2 separate regions of the Homo sapiens genome follow, and region 2 is linked to region 1. Evidence: promoter capture Hi-C in 16 types of primary human blood cells and fetal thymus (Javierre and others, 2016). All regions are on one chromosome and are shown on one strand. Each heading gives the region's core, a stretch centred on a gene start or on the middle of the fragment in contact. The rest is flanking DNA. Distances are from core to core; before and after follow the strand shown.

Region 1 (5,325 bases), core at 1,077-3,576:
AGGGGGCGGGTGAGAATAAGCGTCTGTGAAATCGTTCAACATATCTTAAGGAGGCATTCACACAAGGAGCCCAGTTCAGGGGAGTGTGTAATGTCAGTCTCTGGGCTCAGCTGCCAAAGCTTAGTCTGGACTTCCATGGCTACCATCTCCCAGCTTTGAGGATCTCAATGTCGGGAGAAATCAAAGAGCACAGCATCCATCTCCTCTGCACAACCTACGCCTACATGGCTGACCTAGGAGCTAGACCACATAAATCTCGACCCAATGAGTCTTCTCCCACACCTGACTTCGGAGAGAAAAATCAATTCATCACACAAAATGTACTGTGAGAAAGCGGGCCAAACCCATCCCCTGGGCTTTACAGAGGAGAAGAGCCAACAAGCTGCATCTTCCTGCTGAGTTTAGGCTTTTCACTGTTGGATATCAACGCAGAGGTCCAGATGTCTTGCAGAGGGATAAAGGCTCCTGACCACGGCGGGCTGTCACTCCAAAAAGAGAGAAATGGCCCCAGTGCCAGTCCCTCAGAACCCAGGCCAGGGCTGCAAGGAAATCATGTAAAGGAAGAAGCCTCAAGACCCTGAAGAATACCAAAGGCCATCTCCAAGAGAACACTCCAGAGCTTGCCTGGTTTCCCTTCATTCAAACCATAACCAGTCAGTACTCCACCTTTCTACCTCCTTCCCCAACCTCAGTTACTCTTCCATCTCCCTGGTTAGCCCCCAGCTTTCCCCCTTACCTCTCCCCTCCTCCAGCAACCACGGAAACCTCAGCCATCCTTCACCTGATCCAAACCACCAACCACATCTCCATCCAGCTTTAAAAGGGAGGCCAAAACCACCCACTTCCCTGACCTAGCTCTGACATCGCTACCCAACACTCCTACATCCCAAGTCATACCGCTCACTTGATTTGATCCCCTTTCCTTAACAGTCCATGGGCTCTACCACCAGCCTGGCCTCTGCCTCCAATCATAAGACATCCCTCCCCACACTCAGCTCAGGTCTGGTCTACAAACTGAGCATGCTCCCAAGACTCTTTCATGAACATCATATAACCCCAGCACCTCAGTTTCGCTCCCATAAACCTTCTGGGGCCTGCCTTCCTGACCTCTTGGTCACTCCATAAACCTGCTCACCTGCCACACTCCAAACAGCTCTAAAACCCTCCACCTTTTCCCAGAAACCAGTCTACCTTTTCGAAGGACACTTAATATTCATTAATTCCTTCTGCAAATATGTCTTAAGCATGTACTGGGTGCCAGGCACTGTTCTAGGCACTGGAGCTAGAGCAGTGATCAGAGCTAGGAGCCCTCAAGCAGTGTGTGTGTGTGGCCAAAGCACTTTTATAATTTTGGCTGTCCCATCCCCAGGACCCCTCTGTATATAGTAGTGTAACAGCAAACAGTGACAACTCACTATGTGCCAGGAGCTGTGAGCAACACTGCAGAATCTCACTTAATACTCACATCAACCCCATAAGGCAGATCCAACTATCATTCCATCTTACAGATGAGGAAACTGAACCACGCAGGGATATAATAATTCAGCAGGAATATGCCAGACCCTGTGCAAAGCCCTTTATCCGACTTACCTCATTTAAACCTCACGGCAATCCCATGAGGCAGGTTCTGAGAACGTCCTCATTTTAGATGGGAAGAAACTGACGCTTATAAAGGATACTGATGATAATGACAATAGTGAACATTTACTTCGAGCTTACTTTACCGGGTAGGGCGCTACGCACTTTTCCTACTTTATCCCATCGAATCCTCACACCACCCAGCAAGGCACATCCCCACTTCTCAGATGAGGGAACTGAGGCTCAGGACGGCGAAGCAACTTGCCCAAGGTCAGCGCGAGGCAGGTGGTAGTCCTGAGACTCGAACCCACGTCTCTCCAACTCCAGAGATCGCGCGACTTGACCAAGGTCACACGTGAGGCAGGAACAGGCGCGATGACTGGACCCGGCGCGCTTGGCCCCTCCGCCCCGCGCCCCAACCTCCCCTCGGCGCGGTCCGGAGCCCCTCGGCGCACCCCTGGGGCCCAGACCGCCGGGCTGCCCCGCCCGCCCGCCCCGCACGGGCCGGCACCTCCCCGCCCGCCTGCCGCCCCGAGGCCCCCGCGGGCCGCGCCCGGCAGGGCCCGCGCCGCCTCCGGCCGCTGCGGCCCTCACCGCTGTCGCCGATGATGAGCAGCTTGAAGAGGTGGTCGTAGTCCCGGGCCATGGCGGGCGGGGGCGGTGCGCGCGGGCGGGCGGGGTCGGTACTGGCCTCGCGATCCGCAGCTCCCTTCGGGCTGCTCCGGCAGCGGCGGATCCACTTCCCGAACAAACAGCCGGAACTGACAGAAACACCTCCCTCCGCTCCCCCTCCTCCTCCTCAGCAGCCGCCGCCGCTACCACCGCCTCCCTCCTTCCCGCCCCGCCCCACCACTGCGCAGGCGCAGCGTCTGGCACCGCCTTGCGCAGCCGCAGCCTGAGCCGGCCGCGCCCGGGTCGCGCACGCGCCCTGACGGAGTCCCAGCAAGCGCGGGCCCGTCTTCCTCGCGTCTCCTCGGGGAGCGTCGTCGCCGCCACCCTGGGCGCTGAGAGCTTGCGGAGCCGAGCCGCTGTCGAGTCCCAGCGGAAAGAAGCCCAAGGTGCCGGAGAAGCCCGGTCGTGGACGTTGTTGCTCCCTCATCTTCGAGACCCGCACGCCCTGCGGAGAGGAAATGACAGGCACGCCGCGACCGTGGGGCGGGGCTCGCACGAGCTCCGGGTTTCCAGAGGCAGGGGCCGGGGCCGTAGAAGGCAGAGTCGCGCGGGGAAGGCCCGGTACCCCGCCCCTTCCGCACCGACCCCTCCCCCGCGGAGCTGGCCCCGGCCCCGGGCCTGTGGAGTGGACGCCGAGGGCGGCGGGCGGCTTCCGAGTTGGACAGAACGGGAGCTGCCGGCGGGAGCAGAGCTGCGAGGAGGTGGCCTTTGAGGGCAGCGCGGGGTCGAAATCCCATCCCAGCGCTGTGACCTCTTGGAGCCCACATTGCCTCTTTGGTGGAGGGGAGGGAGTGGTCCAGCTCCGAGCCGAGCCTGGGAGCTGAATGACCCAGTGTGCAAGGCGCACCTCGGAGACCGAAAGCAACCGCTCCCCCGGCTTCAATTTCACACCACCTGCAGATACACGTCTCAGAATCTGCGGCTAGGAAGACCTGGGCCGCCAGAAGCTAAACGTGTGCATTTTGTCATCAGCCCCGGTTTCTCGTTTTAGAGTGAGTTCCCACCTGCCCTACCTAAACTGACCTGAAACGGAAAGTTGTATGCCCCCACGACCATCCTCACTGCAGAACTGCAGAGGGTTTTAAGCTCCTTATTACCTGTTTCTTATAATCCTGTCCCTTTCCAGGCGAGTATTTATCGGATAGTTCTACTTGTTTTATCAAACTTCCTTTTCTTTTGACTTTATAAAAAGCAATGCCGGGAGGCTGAGGCGGGAGAATCGCTTGAACCCGGGAGGCGGAGGTTGCAGTGAGCTGAGATCTCGCCATTGCACTCCATTCTGGGCAACAAGAGCGAAACTCCGTCTCAAAAAAAAAAAACAATGTTCGTCCTTAAAATTATGTGCAGAAGTTTACTGAAAAGTACAAGTTACTATTTTTCCTTCTGAAGCACTCCTCACAGGTAACCCCTGTTAGTTTCACAGGTAACCTTAAAATGCTTAACACATATTTGTTGAATGAATAAGTGCCCCCCAGTGAATTTCCTTTGCCTGTACAAACATATATGTACATACCTTGCTTTTTCTATTTAACAGTACACTTTTATCATTTAACATCTGCGTGGTATGGTACTCCATCCGATAACCATCGGATGTACTATTATTTAACCACTCCGCTATTAATAGACATTCATGCTGTTTATATTTTTTGGTTATAATAAACATTGTTGCAGGCGGGATCATTGAACAACACATGGAGTGTCTGACTCAAGCCTTGAGTTGTTTTTCCGGGAGCTGAGAATCAGTGTGGTGATATCGAAATAACATGAGCTTGGAATCTGAAGGTACTGGCTAGGGAGAAGAGCTGCTCATGTGCTCCCGATAGAAAGTCCCCCTTGGTCGGGAAGGTTAGGGCCATCCTCTGACTCAGCAGTTTTAGGAAATAGAGGGGGAGAAGGAAGGTATGTACCTTCCTTCCACCAGGGAGGCACGCCCAGCCCTAACCAGCCAGCGAGGCAGTAGGTCCTCCTAGCTCATCTTCACAACCTGGGCTGGTGTCGGGAAGACTTTCGTTCCAATGCTAGCTTTGGAATCCTGGCCTCCATCCCTTAAAAGCTTTGTGATCTTAGGTAAGTCACATCACACTATCTCAAAGCCCCCGTTTCCTCACAGAATGGTTGTTTTAGAGTTATGTTTGTAAATTACCTGGCACATGTAGGCATGTGACAGACTGTAACCAATGTTACTCAAGGTCATTTTGCACTGATTCATACTTTGAGCCATTTCCTACTGTAGACTCTAGCACACATTTTCAAGGCAGCTTCCTGATAATAAGGCTGTAGGATATTTTTGGGAAATAAATCCAAATTGGCCATTAAAACCAGATTCCTGACTTTGCCTGCATGTGTCATCTGGAAAGCAATCGGCATAAATTCCTTCATTTCTTTGGTAACTATTTAATGAGTGTTTATGTGCCACGGATTGCAGAGGTTATAAGAAGAGAGCCTTAGGCCGGGCGCTGTGGCTCACACCCATAATCCCAGCACTTTGGGAGGCTGAGGCGGGAGGATCACGAGGTCAGGAGTTCAAGACCAGCCTGGCCAAGATGGTGAAACCCCATCTCTACTAAAAATAAAAAAAATTAGCCGGGCACGATGGCAGGCGCCGGTAATCCCAGCTACTCGGGAGGCTAAGGCAGGAGAATCGCTTGAACCCGGGTGGCAGAGGTTGCCGAGATTGCACCACTGCACTCCAGCCTAGGCGACAGAGCAAGACTCCGTCTTAAAAAAAAAAAAAAAAAAAAAGGAACAGAGCCTTTTCTCACCAGTTCACAGCCTCATCAAGAGTTAAGACATACTCATGAGGAAATTGAAAGTATAAGACAATACAGTAGATAGAAAAGCTGTCAGATATGCAGTCTAGACTTCAGAGGAGGAAAGCTATAGCTTTTAGTTAGAATGATGGGGAGAAGATTTTATCATAAAGATGTCATGATGGCACTGGAATAGGAGAGCTTTGAGTGTCTATTTAGACAGTCCCTGTCACAGTCTATGAGAATCATCATTTGGCTTGGAGGGGAATTCCCTGCAGGCCAGGGTATGTGCCTGGCATCTCAAAATGAATCAGCACATTTTCTT
Region 2 (5,325 bases), core at 821-3,320, 2.4 Mb after region 1:
TTCTATTCCAGCAGTGGCTCTACGAGGTAGCCACTTTGGTTTCTTATAATTTACATTTTGTTGCAAACTCTAATAACGGCTCGAAACATAGACAAATCTTTTTCCACTGCGAAGGAGGTAAGCACTGGATTGAATACTAGGTCACTTCTCTAGGGGACTGTCTTTTTATTGAACAAGGCACGGCATAAATAAATGTTTAAATTCACTTTTTAAAATACTAGAACCCGGCCGGGCGCGGTGGCTCACTCCTGTAATCCCAGCACTTTGGGAGGCCGAGGCGGGTGGATCATCTGAGGTCAGGAGTTCGAGACCAGCCTGGCCGACGTGGTGAAACCCCGTCTCTACCAAAAATATAAAAAAATTAGCCGGGTGTGGTGGTGGGCGCCTGTAATCCCAGCTACTCGGGAGTCTGAGGCAGGAGAATCGCTTGAACCCGGGAGGCGGAGGTTGCAGTGAGCCAAGATCGCGCCATCGCACTCCAGCCTGGGCGACAAGAGCAAAACTCCGTCTCGAAAAAATACAAAAAAACCTGCAACCCAAGAAAAATAGTATTACTCTTTAAGTATACTGAGGCCCAAAACACTAAACAAAGGAAGACAGTAAAAGAAACGGGTTTAAACTCAATCACCTAAATAATAGAGGGGTATGGGGGAAAAAGAAAATCATCTGCCTAATCCCAGGCATTCCAATCGTTAGGAAGAGCAAACTTTAAAACTATCACTATGTTTAAGAGTCATAATTATTATCGAAAATGATGTAATTTTTTAGTCAGTAAAAAGGAATGCAAAATCTTTACATTTTCCTTTTAACGGAATAAAAATGAGGTAAGCACAAAATAATGTGGATCCGTCAGAATTGGGTATCTTATACACACGCAGGCTTATTGTTCAGAATAGATAATTTACGAACTGTAGCTCCTCTGGGGTCAACGAAGAGTTTTTTTTTTTTTTTTTTTTTTTTTTTTTTTTTTTTTTGAGACGGAGTCTCGCTCTGTCACCCAGGCTGGAGTGCAGTGGCGGGATCTCGGTTCACTGCAAGCTCCGCCTCCCGGGTTCACGCCATTCTCCTGCCTCAGCCTCCCAAGTAGCTGGGACTACAGGCGTCCGCCACTACGCCCGGCTAATTTTTTTGTATTTTTAGTAGAGACAGGGTTTCACCGTTTTAGCCGGGATGGTCTCGATCTCCTGACCTCGTGATCCGCCCGCCTCGGCCTCCCAAAGTGCTGGGATTACAGGCGTGAGCCACCGCGCCCGGCCAACGAAGGGTTTAAATTTAAAGGAACAAGGTCAGTGACAAGACTTAACTGTAACGCTTCTCGGACTTCAAATTGATTACATCACGGGCCACTTCGGAAACCGCGCATCAGTCAGAATTGGTAGTTCCACAACCTTTTAAGTTGAATTTTCACTCCCTTTCAGCAATACCTTCCTAGCTCGTTAATACACAATAATAAGGTTTACACGGACGAACACTAATTGAAATTATGCAACTAGAAGCATCTCATTGAGCGTACAAAAAAAAAAATAGCTACAAGTCGCTCTCTTCTCCCACACTACCCTTTACAGACACTGCCTTTTTGACCCAATACTTTTCAGAGACCACTCCTGATCGTCTTTCTCTTCCCCAGCCCCTTTCTCCACCGCAAATTCTCAGGCCCTAAAAAAAACTTAGAATAAATCACTAGCCAGGGTGAATAAGCGAAAATGGAGGAAGTTCAGTGAGGCGAAAGGAACGTAGGGTTGGGGAAGAGAGGAGGAAAGTTCTGGAAAAAAAAAGGCACTCCCTGCGGCTCCCCACCCCCACCAACACCGCCTTACTTCCCCCTCCCTACAGCAGGCAGCCATGATGGCGGGCGCAGAAGAAGGCCGCGGCGCCATTTTGTCTACACACATACACACGAACAAGGTTCTGGGAGCCGTTCACCCACTGTTGGAACGTAGCAGAAAAATATCCCTGGCTTTAAACTCAGATTCGGTACCTACCGCCATAGTTCAGAGTCCCGGCCGCTAGAGCGGCGCCTCCACTTGTCGCTTTCAACAGTACCGGCCGCTCCGAAGCTTCGCCTCAGACTAAATCGCTCGCGCGAGAGACCCGGATGGCACAAAGGCGAGGAGGCCCGGCGCGTCGCACAGCTTGCTGGGAGAAAAAGGGGCGGTAACAAAAGTTTCTATAACAACGCAATTCGAGGCGGTGATTGGGTGTTCTTTCATAGGGGAGTGTAAAGACCGTGAAGAGGGCGGGGCCAAGAATACACCCCCGGAATGCGCAGTCGGGAGAACGGAATGGGCGGAACTCAGGGTGGGGCAACTTCCTATTTCGAGTCTAAAGTAATCTTGGTCTCTTCCGGCCGCCGTAAAGGGGTTGGGTTTAGTGTTCTCCCGCCAATTTAAGCCTGTGGCATGGAACCTAAAGACTAGAGGCGGTTGTGTGAGTCAGGAAGAGGGGCCAGATATCTGAGTGTTCCTCTTTAGTTTCTTCAATTGCAGGTGAGGACGGGGAGCTGCGCTGTGTAGGGAACTGGGGGTGGGTTCAGGACGAAGTAGCTGCAGCCTCTGCTCAGTTCCTGTTGTTTTCCCCTTGACGCTGGCAGGAGAGAGGTTGGAGTCGGTTTTTGCTGGCGGCGATGTCCAGCGGAGAGCGTTTAAGTATGGAGGCCTAACTGACAAGTGTTTCATCTTGCTCATTCTCTCGTATTCGCGAATCTGTTCTGCATTCCGCCGCCAGAGTGATCTCAAAATTATAAAATCAGACCACTCGTTTGCTGAGTTCCCCTTCTACCCCTTGTACTGAGAATAAAATTCAATCTTGAGGTCGAGGTTTTATTGGACTCCACTGCTCTCTCCCTCACTGTCTTCTGCTTTTGCTTTGACCCGGCAGCAGCATCAAACGCTTCCTACCCAGCCTCCGAGTCTTTGCACTCTGTTCCCTCTGCCTACGTCGCGTTCCGCCTAAGTTTTGCGTACTTCTTGTTATTCAGGTCTCAGCTCAGATGTCACCTCCTTCCCTTCCCAAACAAATCCTTCTTCAGCGACGCCTCACCTTATCCATTTAATCACTGTTTCCTTCAAATCATTTAGCACTTTTTGTAATTATTTGTGCAGTTGCTTTTTTGTGGAGGTAGCATAACAAGATACGTATTAACAATTTTATTTTTGTCCGTTTTTCCCGCAAAAACATAAACTTCATAATGGCAAAGACATTTTGTGTTCTGTTCAAGCTATATTCCCAGTTCCTAGAAAGGTGTCTGGCACATAGTAAATAGGTATTCAATAAACATTTGTTGAATAAGTAAATATGGCAGTTACGGGCGGTTTCTCTATTTCACAGATGTGGGAAATTGAGACCCATAAAGGTATTCATTCCAACCTGTCCCTCCTTCTTCATCTCCTCACTCCCACCCAAACACCAGCCACTGAAACTTCTCTATTCTCCAAACATGTTTTGTTTCTGTTCCCTTGCTTATGCTCTTAGGAAGAACTCTTTAAACATTTATAAAACTATGATCTTCAATTCTCAGCCCAATAACAAATTAGCTAACACCTAAAATTGAATGTTTGCCATCAACCAAGCATTGTTCTGTGAACATTTAAAACTCAAAACATTTGGAGGCTGAAGCAGAAGGATTGCTTGAGCCCAGGAGATCAAGGCCAGCCAGGGCAAAATAGTGAGACCCTCGTCTCTCAAAAAACCAGAAGTGAAAAATAGAAAACTCCTTCAGGTGGGTACAACTAAATTAGTCCCTTGGTATTGGTATCCATGGGAGATTGGTTCCAGGACCTCCCACAGATACCAAAACCCTAGGATGCTTAAGTCCCTGTCATTAAATGGCATAGTATTTGCATGTAGCCTAGGAACATCTGCCTGTATACTTTAAATCATCTCTTGATTTCTTATCTTGCGTAACAGTGTAAATGTGCTATGCCTGTAGGTGCAATCTAGGGATGTGGAACACATGGATATTGACGGCAAACTGTATATATATATTTTTTTTCCAAGACGGAGTTTCACTCTTGTTGCCCAAGCTGGAGTGCAAGTGGCACGATCTCGACTTACTGCAACCTCCGCCTCCCGGGTTCAAGCAATTCTACAGCCTCAGCCTCCTGAGTAGCTGGGATTACAGGCGCACACCACCACGCCCGGCTAATTTTTTGTGTTTTTAGTAGAGAGGGGGTTTCGTCATGTTGGCCAGGCTGGTCTCAAACTCCTGACCTCAGATAATCCACCTGCCTAAGCCTCCCAAAGTTCTGGGATTACAGGTGTGAGCCACCGCGCCGGCCTGGTCTGTATATTCCTATTTTATAAATTAGAGAATTGAGGAACAGAAAGATTAAGTGATCACCCAAGGACAGCTGCCTAGTCATTGTGAAAGAGCACCAAGTCAGAAATTGTTTCTACCTTGTGCTATACCTTTTATAGATATTGAAACATACTTCTAGTAGCACTTATGAAACCAATTGTAATTATTTGATTATCATTCCCTACCAGTCTTGATCCAAGGATTGTTTTTATCCTTAGTGTTCTTTTCCCACCCAGACTCCAGGTAATATGGTTTATGTAAACCTTTGCTTTTTGAGATGGGTAAACCTCATAAGGTTTCAAGCTTAGTCTTTGATCCAGAAACCTAATTCATTTTTTTCTCCTCCCCTTATCATTTTTATTTGTTGTATAATAATACTATGATAGCATCAATGGACTTTTTCTGAACTTCATCTGGAATCTTATCATCCTATGATATCCCTGACAATCTGGCATCTAAACCTACACTGTTTGCTGCTATTAAAGGTTTATTTCTAATGAAAGGTTTATTTCTAATGAAAACTTGGTATAATTAAAGGTTTATTTCTAATGAAAACTTGGTATAATTCCAAACTAGACACACAAAGTAATGGAAGCTCTAAGATACATTGGTAAGATCAGAATTGTTGGTTTGTGTGCATAAACCAATATGTTGTTCTCTGGTAACCATCATAGCTCTAGTTCCATTTATGTTATTGGCCCGAAGTGTTTAGTGGCCACAGCAATAACAAGAAGACTAAGATGTCTGTATATGTTAATGTTAGACTTTTGTTTTTGTTTTGTGAGTAAGCTTTATCATTTCCCAAGGAACCAGGTTCTATGCAACAAGATAATATGGTGTCTAATTTTATGTTGTTCAGGAAAGACAGTGGTTCCTGACTCAGGAAGACAGTCTCAGAAACATGTGGAATGATATTGAGCTGCTAACAAATGATGATACCGGAAGTGGGTACCTGAGTGTCGGTTCAAGAAAAGAACATGGAACTGCTTTATATCAAGTAGATTTGCTAGTGAAGATCTCTTCTGAAA

What was found. The method cuts DNA at HindIII sites, captures the fragments that hold promoters and counts their contacts. A CHiCAGO score of 5 or more calls a contact.
Region 2: the fragment with the promoter of RSRC2 here is called in contact with the fragment with the promoter of RAB35 in region 1 in 1 of 17 cell types (total CD8 T cells); the score reaches 5.3 in total CD8 T cells.

The regions. Positions count from the first base shown.
Region 1 is chr12:120,114,427-120,119,751 of GRCh38, forward strand. RAB35 (RAB35, member RAS oncogene family) reads right to left here and starts at 2,327. Exons shown (of 6, transcript NM_006861.7): 1 at 2,173-2,327. The coding sequence starts at 2,224. It overlaps RAB35-AS1 (RAB35 antisense RNA 1), which reads left to right and starts at 2,481. Exons shown (of 1, transcript NR_182302.1): 1 at 2,481-4,577. RefSeq lists enhancers at 1,518-2,310, 2,311-3,102, 3,895-4,686, 4,106-4,205, 4,236-4,305 and 1 more and silencers at 2,028-2,157, 2,258-2,567, 2,728-3,077, 3,168-3,227, 3,215-3,393. The HindIII fragment of the contact is 4,184 bases long and covers 118-4,301 here.
Region 2 is chr12:122,524,866-122,530,190 of GRCh38, forward strand. It overlaps RSRC2 (arginine and serine rich coiled-coil 2), which reads right to left and starts at 2,071. Exons shown (of 10, transcript NM_023012.6): 1 at 1,983-2,071. The coding sequence starts at 1,988. It overlaps KNTC1 (kinetochore associated 1), which reads left to right and starts at 2,384. Exons shown (of 64, transcript NM_014708.6): 1 at 2,384-2,486; 2 at 5,126-5,325. The coding sequence starts at 5,199. RefSeq lists enhancers at 1,751-2,210, 4,318-4,417. The HindIII fragment of the contact is 2,543 bases long and covers 2,056-4,598 here.